Linked DNA regions of Homo sapiens: regions 1, 3 and 4 are each linked to region 2. The links are contacts of gene promoters, found by promoter capture Hi-C in blood cells and fetal thymus (Javierre and others, 2016). All regions are on one chromosome and are shown on one strand. Each heading gives the region's core, a stretch centred on a gene start or on the middle of the fragment in contact. The rest is flanking DNA. Distances are from core to core; before and after follow the strand shown. Region 1 overlaps AFF3 (ALF transcription elongation factor 3). Region 2 holds the start of LONRF2 (LON peptidase N-terminal domain and ring finger 2). Region 3 overlaps AFF3 (ALF transcription elongation factor 3). Region 4 overlaps AFF3 (ALF transcription elongation factor 3).

Evidence for each region. Contacts are between HindIII fragments. The CHiCAGO score rates a contact against its expected background, and 5 or more counts as called.
Region 1: a fragment that was not itself captured here is called in contact with the fragment with the promoter of LONRF2 in region 2 in 10 of 17 cell types (M1 macrophages, fetal thymus, naive CD8 T cells and 7 more); the score reaches 8.7 in M1 macrophages.
Region 3: a fragment that was not itself captured here is called in contact with the fragment with the promoter of LONRF2 in region 2 in 7 of 17 cell types (M2 macrophages, M0 macrophages, M1 macrophages and 4 more); the score reaches 8.7 in M2 macrophages.
Region 4: a fragment that was not itself captured here is called in contact with the fragment with the promoter of LONRF2 in region 2 in 4 of 17 cell types (megakaryocytes, total CD4 T cells, M0 macrophages and 1 more); the score reaches 7.8 in megakaryocytes.

Annotation. Positions count from the first base shown.
Region 1 is chr2:99,586,615-99,589,314 of GRCh38, forward strand. It overlaps AFF3 (ALF transcription elongation factor 3), which reads right to left. Exons shown (of 25, transcript NM_001386135.1): 16 at 540-664. Among named protein-coding and RNA genes, the nearest start is that of REV1, 98 kb to the left of the region's middle. The HindIII fragment of the contact is 2,150 bases long and covers 196-2,345 here.
Region 2 is chr2:100,321,106-100,323,805 of GRCh38, forward strand. It overlaps LONRF2 (LON peptidase N-terminal domain and ring finger 2), which reads right to left and starts at 1,396. Exons shown (of 12, transcript NM_198461.4): 1 at 310-1,396. The coding sequence starts at 988. The HindIII fragment of the contact is 11,643 bases long and covers 1-2,548 here.
Region 3 is chr2:99,565,223-99,567,922 of GRCh38, forward strand. AFF3 (ALF transcription elongation factor 3) reads right to left here. Exons shown (of 25, transcript NM_001386135.1): 20 at 265-401. Among named protein-coding and RNA genes, the nearest start is that of REV1, 77 kb to the left of the region's middle. The HindIII fragment of the contact is 3,586 bases long and covers 1-2,700 here.
Region 4 is chr2:99,547,596-99,550,295 of GRCh38, forward strand. AFF3 (ALF transcription elongation factor 3) reads right to left here. Exons shown (of 25, transcript NM_001386135.1): 25 at 1-2,700. Among named protein-coding and RNA genes, the nearest start is that of REV1, 59 kb to the left of the region's middle. The HindIII fragment of the contact is 4,123 bases long and covers 1-2,700 here.

The DNA.
Region 1 (2,700 bases), core at 21-2,520, 730 kb before region 2:
GCCATTCATCACAGAGGGGAGTCAGTGCTGGATGCGTCCATCTGGAACCTCTTGAGAGGAGTGTGTGGGTGGCCATTTAACCTTGGGAGCACGGACCCTTCTAAGGCCACAATTTTAGTCTATATCCAATTAATTGCTTTAGGTGCTACACATGGAGATTCAGCTTGAAGTGTGTATTTCTTCGTCTGTGTAATAAGCTTAGTGTTCTTAGGAGTTTAGCGGTTACCATTAAAATATTGATTAGAAATTCAGTTATTAAGTTTTTTTGGGGGAAGGGCATGTCTTGGGGAGTGCAGAGCTGTGTGTAACTAGTATCTGGTCTTTGGTTATGGAGAAGAACCTTGCGTGAGTATCTGGAGCTATAATGTGTGGCACATGTGTAGCCATAATAATAAGATTTGGGTTAAAGGAGGGAAGCAAGTCTGCAGACCTTGACCAGAGTAGTCCTCAAAAAGCCTGACCCTCCTCCAACATAGCAGGTGACTTTCAGACCCAGAGATCTCTCCAGCTCACTTCCACTTTGGAGGGAATGCACGTACCTGTTGATGTTCATGTTGCAGTGGTTTGCAGACAAAGTATTACTGGTGGAGGTGGCCAGTCTTGAAGAGCTGTCTTTCTCTCCCTGGGACTTCTTGATCTCCCTGTAGTCGTCTTCGTTGTCACACTGTATGGGAATAAACTAAAGTCAATCAGCACTGGATTTCAAGAGGTATTATGAGTTCCCAGGCACCGACTTCCACAGAGCAAGGCCTCCTGGGAGCCCCACTCACCTGGCTTCCCCGAAGCACAGCCTGAGCAGCTGTGCCCCTGCCATAGCTTCCCCATTAGCTCCTCAACAAGCAAGGATGAAATCTGTCAGTTTTACAATTGACAGCTGATGGAGAGGAGAGGCACGACGCCATGATTCAACATTTTGAATTCTGAAAGCTGCTCTGCCATCAACCGGCTTAGGATTTAGCCCTCCAACTGGTCTGAGTTCCCACTGCAGCTCCAGCGGCACTCACCTTGGCATTTCTTGGTATCAGAATAAAGTACAGCAAGTGTGTGTTCTCTGGGATTCATGCCATAAGGGCAGTGGCAAGCCTGGACTTTTCTGTTTTAAAAATTCTTGCTTTGGCCAGGTGCGGTGGCTCATGCCTGTAATCCCAGCACTTTGGGAGGCCGAGGCAGGCGAATCACGAGGTCAGGAGATCAACACCATCCTGGCCAACATGGTGAAACCCCATCTCTACTAAAATACAAAAAATTAGCCAGGTGTGGTGGTGCACGCCTGTAGTCCCAGCTACTTGGGAGGCTGAGGCAGGAGAATCGCTTGAACCTGGGAGGCAGAGATTTAAGTGAGCTGAGATCACGCCACTGCACTCCAGCCTGGTGACAGAGTGAGACTCCGTCTCAAAAAAAAAAAAAAAAATTATTGCCTTTTGTGAACTGCAAGCAGAAGCTATTATCTCTTGGTGCCTTAATTCTAGTTTTCAATTACTATCCCATGACATCTTAGAATCCATAAAGTACCTTTTTCTAAAACAGTACTTTGATTGGATCCTTGTTGCCATGATTGGGTTTAATTTTATTTGTTTATTTAGAGACAGTCTTGCTCTGTCACCCAGGCTGGAGTGCAGTGGTGCGATCATGGCTCACTGCAGCCTCGACCTCCCAGGCTCAGGTGATCCTCCCGCCTCAGCCTTCCAAGTAGCTGGGAATGCAAGTGTGTGCCACCATGCCTGGCTAATTTTTTGTATTTTTTGTAGAGACGGGGCTTTGCCATGTTGCTCAGGCTGATCTCAAACTCCTGGGCTCAAGCGATCCTCCCACCTTGGCCTCCCAAAGTGCTGGGATTACAGGTGTCAGCTATCAGGCCAGCCTGTGTTTAACTTTAGATATGTGTTAAGGTGCAACACAAATATATTCAGAAAGTACCATTTTCCATGAGATAACAGGAACCTAGTATGGTATCCTCAGGGCTGTCTGCATTGTTTTCCAGGAGACAAGTGCCAACACCAAAGAGAGAAAGACTCTGACTTTCTCGCTCTGGCTGGGATTTTGCCACACAGCCTCTGCCACAGGGGCTCCCAGATGCCCACACTGTAATAGTACCCCCATGGAGGGCCCAAACCAAAGCTCCGAGTTCTTAGTCCTTAGCTCCAGGGCTCCAGCAGGGCGAGACTCCACAAATTTGACAGCCAGGTCTATGGGGTCCCATCTCCAGCACCCAGTACTGGGGTACTAATGCCCAGAATACCAAGTAAAGAGCACTATAAGAATGTTCTTTCACTTCTCTTGTGTCTGTGTTTAATGATTCTTTAGATTTTATGAGTACAGCCAGGTGTCAGGCTTACTGTAAATGAAGCTTCTTAAGTTAAAATAAAAATGGCCATAAGTAATACAACTATTTAAACACAGAATATTACGGAATTTTATGTAAGTCTTTCTGCACATCTCTCTAGTAAACTCTGCATGCCTGGATGGCTTTATGTATTTCCAATCTGTCTATATATTACCAATGTCTATCTCTGCATATTTCATGTGTATATTTCCATCAGCGTATTCAGTTAGCCATCCATCCCAGAGGTAATAGCCACACTCATTCCCAGATGATTAACTGATTGATTGATTCCTACACTCAACAAAGACTGAGCACCAGCAAGTAGTAAGGAAGACAGGGTGTGTAGAGAAAAACAGGAGGAATAGCAGGTAGGGAAG
Region 2 (2,700 bases), core at 146-2,645:
CCCCGCTCCTCAACAGCGCAGAAGATGCCGAAAAGCAATTACAGGACCTTACAGAGCTGCTCCGGGGGCCGCGGGAAACTTACCAGCATCCTGGAAAAGACAAAACCAGTGGGGTGCACTTGGCCTCTCCTGGCTGCAGGGTGTGGCCGCCCCCACCTTTCACCTTCCCATCCTTAGGAAGCAAAGTGACCCCTAAGCCTAGACAAAGCTCTCGAAAGCCCAAAGCCTCGGGCCCACCGGCCAGCTCCCCACCCCGCTGCTGGGCCGGACAGGTGTAGGGGAGGCGGACCCGCCCCGCAGCCGACTCACCCAGCTCCAGGGCCTGGTCGCACCTGAGCAGCGCGGCCTCCGGCTGCTGCTGGCGCTGCAGGCTCCGCGCCTGGCCTGCCAGCCTGCGCAGCCGGCACTCGGCCGGGAAGCACTTCTCCAGCAGGCCGCTCAGCACCACGTTCACGCGCCGCACCTGCGGCCGCGCGGGCCCTGGCTCCACGCAGCGCTTGCAGACTGTGAGCCCGCAGGGCAGCGTCACCGGCTTATGCAGCAGCCGCCGGCAGCGCGGGCAGCCGAGCAGGTCGCGGGGCGCGCGGGGCTCCGGGGCCGGCCCTCCCTCGCCGGGCGCCTCGGGCTCGCCGCCCGGGTTCTCCGCGGACAGCGGCCGGTCGCGCAGGCCCACGGCGCGCACCAGGCCGCCCGCCAGCTCTTCCAGCTCCTCCGGCCGCAGCGCCCCGAGCCGCGCGGCGCCGCGGAACGCGCCCAGGGCTTCGGGGAGGCGGCCGGCGCGGGCCAGCGCGTCCCCCAGCCTCAGGCACAGGCCGCGGTCCGGCTGCGCCAGCCCGGCTAGCATGGAGCGAAAGAGCTCGGCTGCCATCTCGTAGTCGCCCGCGCGGAAGGCCTCGTCGCCCTCCTCTAAGCGCTGGGCGATCGGCTCCGCGCGGTCGCAGCCAGGACACTGGGGCGGCGGCGGCGGCGGGACCGGCTCGGGGCTCATCACCGCGGGGCTGCGACGACGCGGGTCCGGAGCGAAGGCGCGGAGCAGGGAGGATGCGCTGCTGCTGGGAACTGGCCGGCGGGAGCGCGGTCTCAGCCCTCGCCAGCAGCCACGCGCGTCTGGGGGCGGCGCGCTGCGAGCGGCTGAGACCGCGGGCGGGGGCGGGCGCCTGGCTTGGGCAGCGTCCTCAGCGCGGTGTGGGCGGCGAGCCCCGCAGGGCTGCAATCGTTCCGGGGTGGGGGCCGGGACAGGCACCGCGGGCGCAATCTGAGCCCCTGCCCACGCGCAGCGGCCTCTCAGTCCCGCCGGCTTAGGTAACCCAGGTCGCTGCGGTAACGCAGTGACCGCGCTCCAGGTCCGCGTCTCTTGCGATGCTTCCCCCACTCGCCTGAGGGCTCCTGCGCGACTGCGCGCGCGTCCTCTGCCTGCCGCCTCCCCGCAGAGGTGCCGGGGCCCTGGGAGCAGGTGGCCTTGGCCGCGGGCTGCTGGCGCGCCGGCACCGCGGCACCTGCTCTTCCCCAGAGGCCTGGCCGCCCCCACAACCTGTGGCTCCGCTTAAGCAAGAACCCAGGAAAAGTCACCAAACGCATCACGCATCTCTAGCTTCGACTTAGGAAATTGTCCTAAATGACTGGGGAGGCTGAAGTGGGCACCCAGAGGCCCCGCCTCAGCGAGCTTCTTCTCTTAACTCTAGGCTGAGGCCTTTGAGAACTCATTTTAACAGAGAACGTGGAGGGCCAAGAGAACCAGATACCAGGAGGAGGAGGGATTCGAGAAGTGGACAATTGTATTGTGCCCTTGATTAGGAAGCAGAAATAGAATTAGAAATAGAATTCTAATTAATAGAATTAGAATAGAAATAGAAAGGGTGCCCTAGTATGGAGTACTGCAGACATAAGTTGCTGGGGAGAGGGAGCTAAACGCTCCGTTGGTGTACAAGCAAGGTTTAAATTAAAATCCTCTGTGCGTATTAACCGGGTTCATAATTTCTCCTATATAGCCTATGTATTTCTCCTATGTAGCCTGCTCCCTTCTTCCTGTCGTCACAGTATCTGTTTTATCCTGTGTATTTGAATACAATAAAATGCATTACAATATTCTAGAATTCATACTACTGTTCATATTTCAAGAATAAATTTTTTTAAAAAATTGGAGAGGTTTTTCTACATCTAAAACTGCTGGCTAAAGAAAATATACAATACCTCGACCACATCTGGCTTTGGGAAAGGAGAAATGCCTCATTAAGTGAGAGAACATTTTAGACCAGTTCCTAAAAGGGAAAAAGGGGCAATTTTTGGCCAGCCCTCTAGTTCTACAATAAACAAATGCAGAGTACCCACCTCCTTTTCCATGAAGGATTTCCCCCAGCTGTCTACCTAACTTAATTGATAACAGTGTACTGTTTGGGTCTCTTTTTCATTACTGAATTATTTCAAATTCACTTTTTCAATCACTGTTTGGATTTTTATCTGCTTTCTTTATAGAATAACAATTCACTTATATTTGAGGGTCATTTATCCATCAAATTCACAACCAACAATCAGGAAGCAATGGGGAAAAAGCTTCAGAGCACAGACCATACAGTAAAGATTGTGAAACCTTATGATCTCAGATCCTATTTGTTCTTATTTTAGACAAATATCTAGCAAGAGAACAGAAAGAAGCTTGCCGGAGGTATGCCTGCTGAGAGCCAGAAGTGTTTAAAGCAAAAA
Region 3 (2,700 bases), core at 48-2,547, 760 kb before region 2:
GGAGCAGGCATGTCACAGCCCACTCAGACTCAGCCTCCTCCCTCAGCAATTGGGGGCTACAGCAGCTGCCCCCCTTGCTCACGGAGGACAGAGGGGGCAGGGTGTGCCAAGACGCCTTGCACGACCTTACCCTCTTATTTTGGGGGGATGAACACTGGTTCCTGGTGGGGGATGGTGCAGGCTGACATTCTTTTCTCTGTAACCATAGTGCTTCCACACATTCCTCACTCCTCCCCTCATCCAGCAAGAAAACACGGTGCTTACCTGATGAGCTCTACTGTTTCTGAATACATCGTATAAGGAGATTTGGATTCCATGGGGCCTTGTTCCATTGCATTTCCACACTCGATAAACGACAATGCTGCTTCAGCATAGTTCAAAGCCTTTCCAAACTTTTCCACCTGATCAACAGAGTTAATACAGTGTCTTCCTAAACAATAGTTTTTTTTAAATGGCATTGTCATGTAGTTTATACACCTTATTTGAGAAACCCAACTCTGACTTCTAAAATCCTATGAAGCTGAGAGAAGAAAGAAATAGAATACTTCTTTTCCTACTTATTTTCTCAAACTGCTACTGGCTTGGAGTAAGTGAGCGAACAGTTATATACAGAATTGTATCAAACCCATGTGACAGCTGTCAATCAACAGAGCTCAGAACTGCATGGCTGCTCTGATTTCTGTTTCCCTCTTTCTAACCCCTAATGGTTTGGCGACTTCATTCCTTGTTCCTCCATGCTATGCTAAATATGCATCAAAGTTGGTAGGTCTGGTCCCATATAAGAGTTTTCATACTTCTTTTGGTACATCCCCAACTTGGATGGTTCTAGGCCTTGGTTATTATCTTTTACATTATTTGTGGCACTTATATCTCCATGCCTTCCTCTTCTCAATTTTTTTTAATTTTTTTATTTTTGAGATGGAGTCTCCCTGCAACCTCTGCCTCCTATGTTCAAGCGATTCTCCTGCCTCAGCCTCCCACGTAGCTGGAATTACAGGCAGGCATAGGCCACCACACCTGGCCTCAATTGTTTTTTTTTTTTGTTGTTGTTAATATTTAGAACCTCACTTAAGAGTGAGAGTGAGTAGGGGAAAGGAGAGGAGATAAACCTCAAGGAGCTATTTCAGCTTTGCTAAAATAGGACAAAAAGTTGAAAATTATTAATAAAAATGATTTTTGGTTGGGCCTGGCGGCTCATGCCTGTAATCCCAGTGTTTTGGGAAGGTGAGGCAGGAGGATCACTCGAGCCTGGAAGTTTGAGGTTCCAGTGAGCTATGATCGCCCCACTGTGCTCCAACCTGGATAACACAGCAAGACGCTGTCTCTAAAGGCAAAACAAAACACATTTCTACGGGATTATCTGTAGCTGTCGAAATTTGTGTTATTCTTTCCCCACATCAGCAAGGGCAGCCACAAATCAGCTTTATATTCTTAAGATCTCATCAGTCTAAACTTATGCATCAAGTTCCTGGTTCCATACCTTACTACTCTTTGTAGGTAATTACATATTCTAACTCTGGATTGCAGAATCTCCCCAGTTTTCAAATGATTCATTCATCAATTAAAACAGAATGACATAATACTCAAATACTATTCCAAGTCTTGCCACTAAAAATACAAAAAAAACTTCATTAGTAATGATAGCTTCAAAACCAGAAATGCAGAGCAAAACTTCCTCTCCTTAGCAAATCAAAATTTTAAACTGCTTATAAAGGTAGTGTAGGCTATAATGCAACATTTCTTTTTTCTTTTTTTTTTTTTTGGAGACAGGGTCTCACTCTGTCACCCAGGCTGGAGTGCAGTGGCATGATCTTGGCTCATTGCAATCTCTGCCTCCCGGGTTCAAGCGAGTCTTCTGTCTCAGCCTCCCAAGTAGCTGGGATTACAGGTGTGCACCACCACACCTGGCTCATTTTTTTTTTTTTTTTTGTATTTTTAGTAGAAACAGGGTTTCACCATGTTGGCCAGGCTGGTCTCGAACTCCTGACCTCAAATGATCCACCTGCCTTAGCCTCCCAAAGTGCTGGGATTACAGGTGTGAGCCACCGTGCCTGGCCTATAATGCAACATTTCTTGATAACACTTTCAGATGAAGTCATTTCATTTAGTATTAATATTTCCTAAAGCACCCAATTCTGTGGTATGTGCACTCCACAAGCGAAAGCTCTTTCCAGGAACATATAATAGACTTGGAGAGAGAAAATGTACACCTACAAGACAGTTCAAAGTGCAAGGCAGTCTGTGATTACCCAACAAAATACAAAATGAGGCATCCAGTGCAAATGAGATGGAGGAAAGTGAGCTAGTGATGGGGCCGCAGAGAGGCTGGGAAGGCCACAGGGAGGAGACTGAATATGACGCCGGGAAGGAATGGTAGGGTTTGGCTAGATTTGGGGAGGATGCTGAGGGTGTGAGTGTGCCCATGAGAGTGTGTGAGAGTGAATCTCTGCAGGTGCAAAGGCCCGCTGGCTGGCAGGAGCAAGGTGTGCTTAGAGGTCAGTAGGGGACCAGCCTGGCTGGAGCAGAGTGTCTCCTCTTGGGAAATCGTCAACAGGAAAGATAGGGTTGGGCAAGAGGACAATGAATGAATAATGCTGTAAACTTTAGATGCTGGATTCAGGCAGAAAATCTCTTTCTCCTTAAAAATCTGATGCTCTTCTCCAAGAGTGGCCATTCATTGGCTTCTCCAGATGACCAGAA
Region 4 (2,700 bases), core at 118-2,617, 770 kb before region 2:
AAGATGTGATTCATAAATAATGTTGGCTGCACTGATTAATTTTATAACAATTACTGCACTTCCAAGTTGATGCGAACACGCAGTGACTCATACTCAATATTAGGCACTAGTAATATCCTTCAGGCGTACTACAGTTTTATGTTAGCTGTATTGTACATATATATTTTTAAATGTATGCATTTATACAAACTGTGTATATTATGTATGGGGTGTCAGAAATGTACACATCACTGTTATATAATACACACATCATTGTTGTACATATGAGGATAAGTTTTAGTGCAGAAAGTCTCATTGCATTGCATTCCATGTGTTCAATCTAGTACACAATTTGTCAACTCTTCAGATTATTTTTCCAGTACATTCCTCATTAGATTGTGGGTTTCAAGTTTCCATTTGCAATTTGAATGTTTCCAGAAATCTCTGTCTTAACCAAACCTCTCTCTCCAGGCACGATTCTGCACATGAGTCTGATCTGTGTAGAGTAGTATCATCAAAAATGCCAAATTTTGATCAGGAATATACCTGGACTACTCTCTTTCAAAGGCAATTGAACATCGTGATAAAGGATAGCATCTATTCAGGTCATGGAAGGATATGGTCAGTTGAACTTGTGTTGAACTTTGGAGGCAAATGTACGTCTTCAAATAAAAAGACATGGTAATAAAAATTATTTGCTTAAATTTGAGAGTCTCTGGAAGGATATACATCAAACTGTGAGCAGTGGTTGTCTCAGGCAGAAGGGACAACCAGGGACTTACACTTTCTACTTTCTACATTTCTGCACTGTTTGAGTTTTTACAATGAGTAGATATTACTTTTCTAATTAGAAAACACAAGAAAGGTATTTCAACTTGAAACAAAACTAAACAGGCCAGGCATGGTGGCTCATGCACTTTGGGAGGCCGAGGCCAAAGGATCGCTTGAGCCCAGGAGTTTGAGACCAGCCTGGGCAACATAGTGAGACCCCCATCTCTACAAAAAAAATAAAGAAAAAATTAGCCGGGTGTGGTGGCACGTGCCTATCTTCCCAGCTGCTTGGGAGGCTGAGGCAGGAGGATTGCTTGAGCCCAGGAGTTTGAGGCTGCAGGGAGCCATGATCGCGCCACCGCATTCCAGCTTGGGCTACAGAGCCAGACCCGGTCTCAAAACCAACCAAACCAACAACAACAGCAGTAACAACAAAACTAAGTAAAAGGAACAAGTTATGAATGACTTTCACAAGCAACAATTGGAGGATGGTTACTAACCAAAATCACCCATGCCAAACCCCACAGAAACTGCTGTACCAACGTGCTCCACACGTGCTCCACAGATGAAACAAGACAGTCATAAGAACTACACGCTCTGACCACTGCCCACAACGGTAAGTTTCAAGAAGTTTTCCTGGGAAATGTGGGCCATCAGAGTGCTGATAAAACACTGCTGGCCCACCTGTCAAATGGGGCTTCACAGGGAAGCTCATCACATAGATGTTACAACAAAGTCTGCAACTTTCAAGGTGGGCAGGACCAGAGAAGCTCTCCAGGTATGCAGGATAGACCTCCAGGGCCATCCCTTTATGTGTTTGAATATTTCATCAGGATTCTTCAAGAGTAGGTAGAACAAAGCCTCAGTCCTCCAAAAAAATGACTCAAAATTTCTTAAGTTAGGTTCAAGTTTCTGACATAGGATGGGATTGTGAACTCTGCCAAAAATTAGTGAAAGGGCTGGGTGTGGTGGCTCACGCCTGTAATCACAACACTTTGGGAGGTGGAGGCGGGTAGATCACCTGAGGTCAGGAGTTTGAGACGAGCCTGGCCAACATGGTGAAACCCAGTCTCTACTAAAAACACAAAAATTAGCTGGGCATGGTAGTGCACACCTGTAATCCCAGCTACTTGGGAGGCTGAGGCGGGACAATCACTTGAACCCAGGAGGCAGAGGATGCAGTGAGCCGAGATCGTGCCACTGCACTCCAGCCTGGGCAACAGAGCGAAACTCGTCTCAAAAAAAAAGTGAAAGGGTTGTAAGAAGCACCCCAGTTGGAGACATGTAAAATGGAAATTCTCTTAATATTTCCAAATGCTTGAAGGCCAAAGCCAAATGCAAATTCCACAAGCCCTTCTTATTTTCAATTAATTTCAAATCATCTAAGTTGTTCAGTCATTTATACAATTTTGAATCAGTGCTCAGAGCTAAGGAATTATGATGATCTTACTTCCCACCTACAGATCAGGCTAACAAAAATGTTAACACTGCAAACCAACCTGTAAGAATATCAGTGAATGTTTATGGATCAGCATCTAGTCTAAGTATTTTGTGCCGTCATCACCTTGAAAAAATGGATTGCACCACATATTACACCGCCTGCCTTTCTCAGACCGTCCTGGTGCAACTTTATCAAGTAAGAGGCCACAAGGACATTATTTTTGTTTTTAACGTGTGGCAAGATAGACCCTCTTTTTCAGGAGTTATTTTCTTTTCGTCAAGATTTCATATCCAAATATATTTAACAAGATGACTAAATCTAGGGCATAAGACACTACAAAAGAAAAAACATCAGACAAAAACTGTAAACAAGATGTCAAAGAAACTAAAATGTAAACTTAATTAAAAAAAGAAAACAAGAGAAAAACTCAGAGCAAGGTGTAAACATACCAGACACACAGGACACAGGAAGAGGCTCTGGTTGCTGCTGCCCCAGAAAGGAACTGTGAT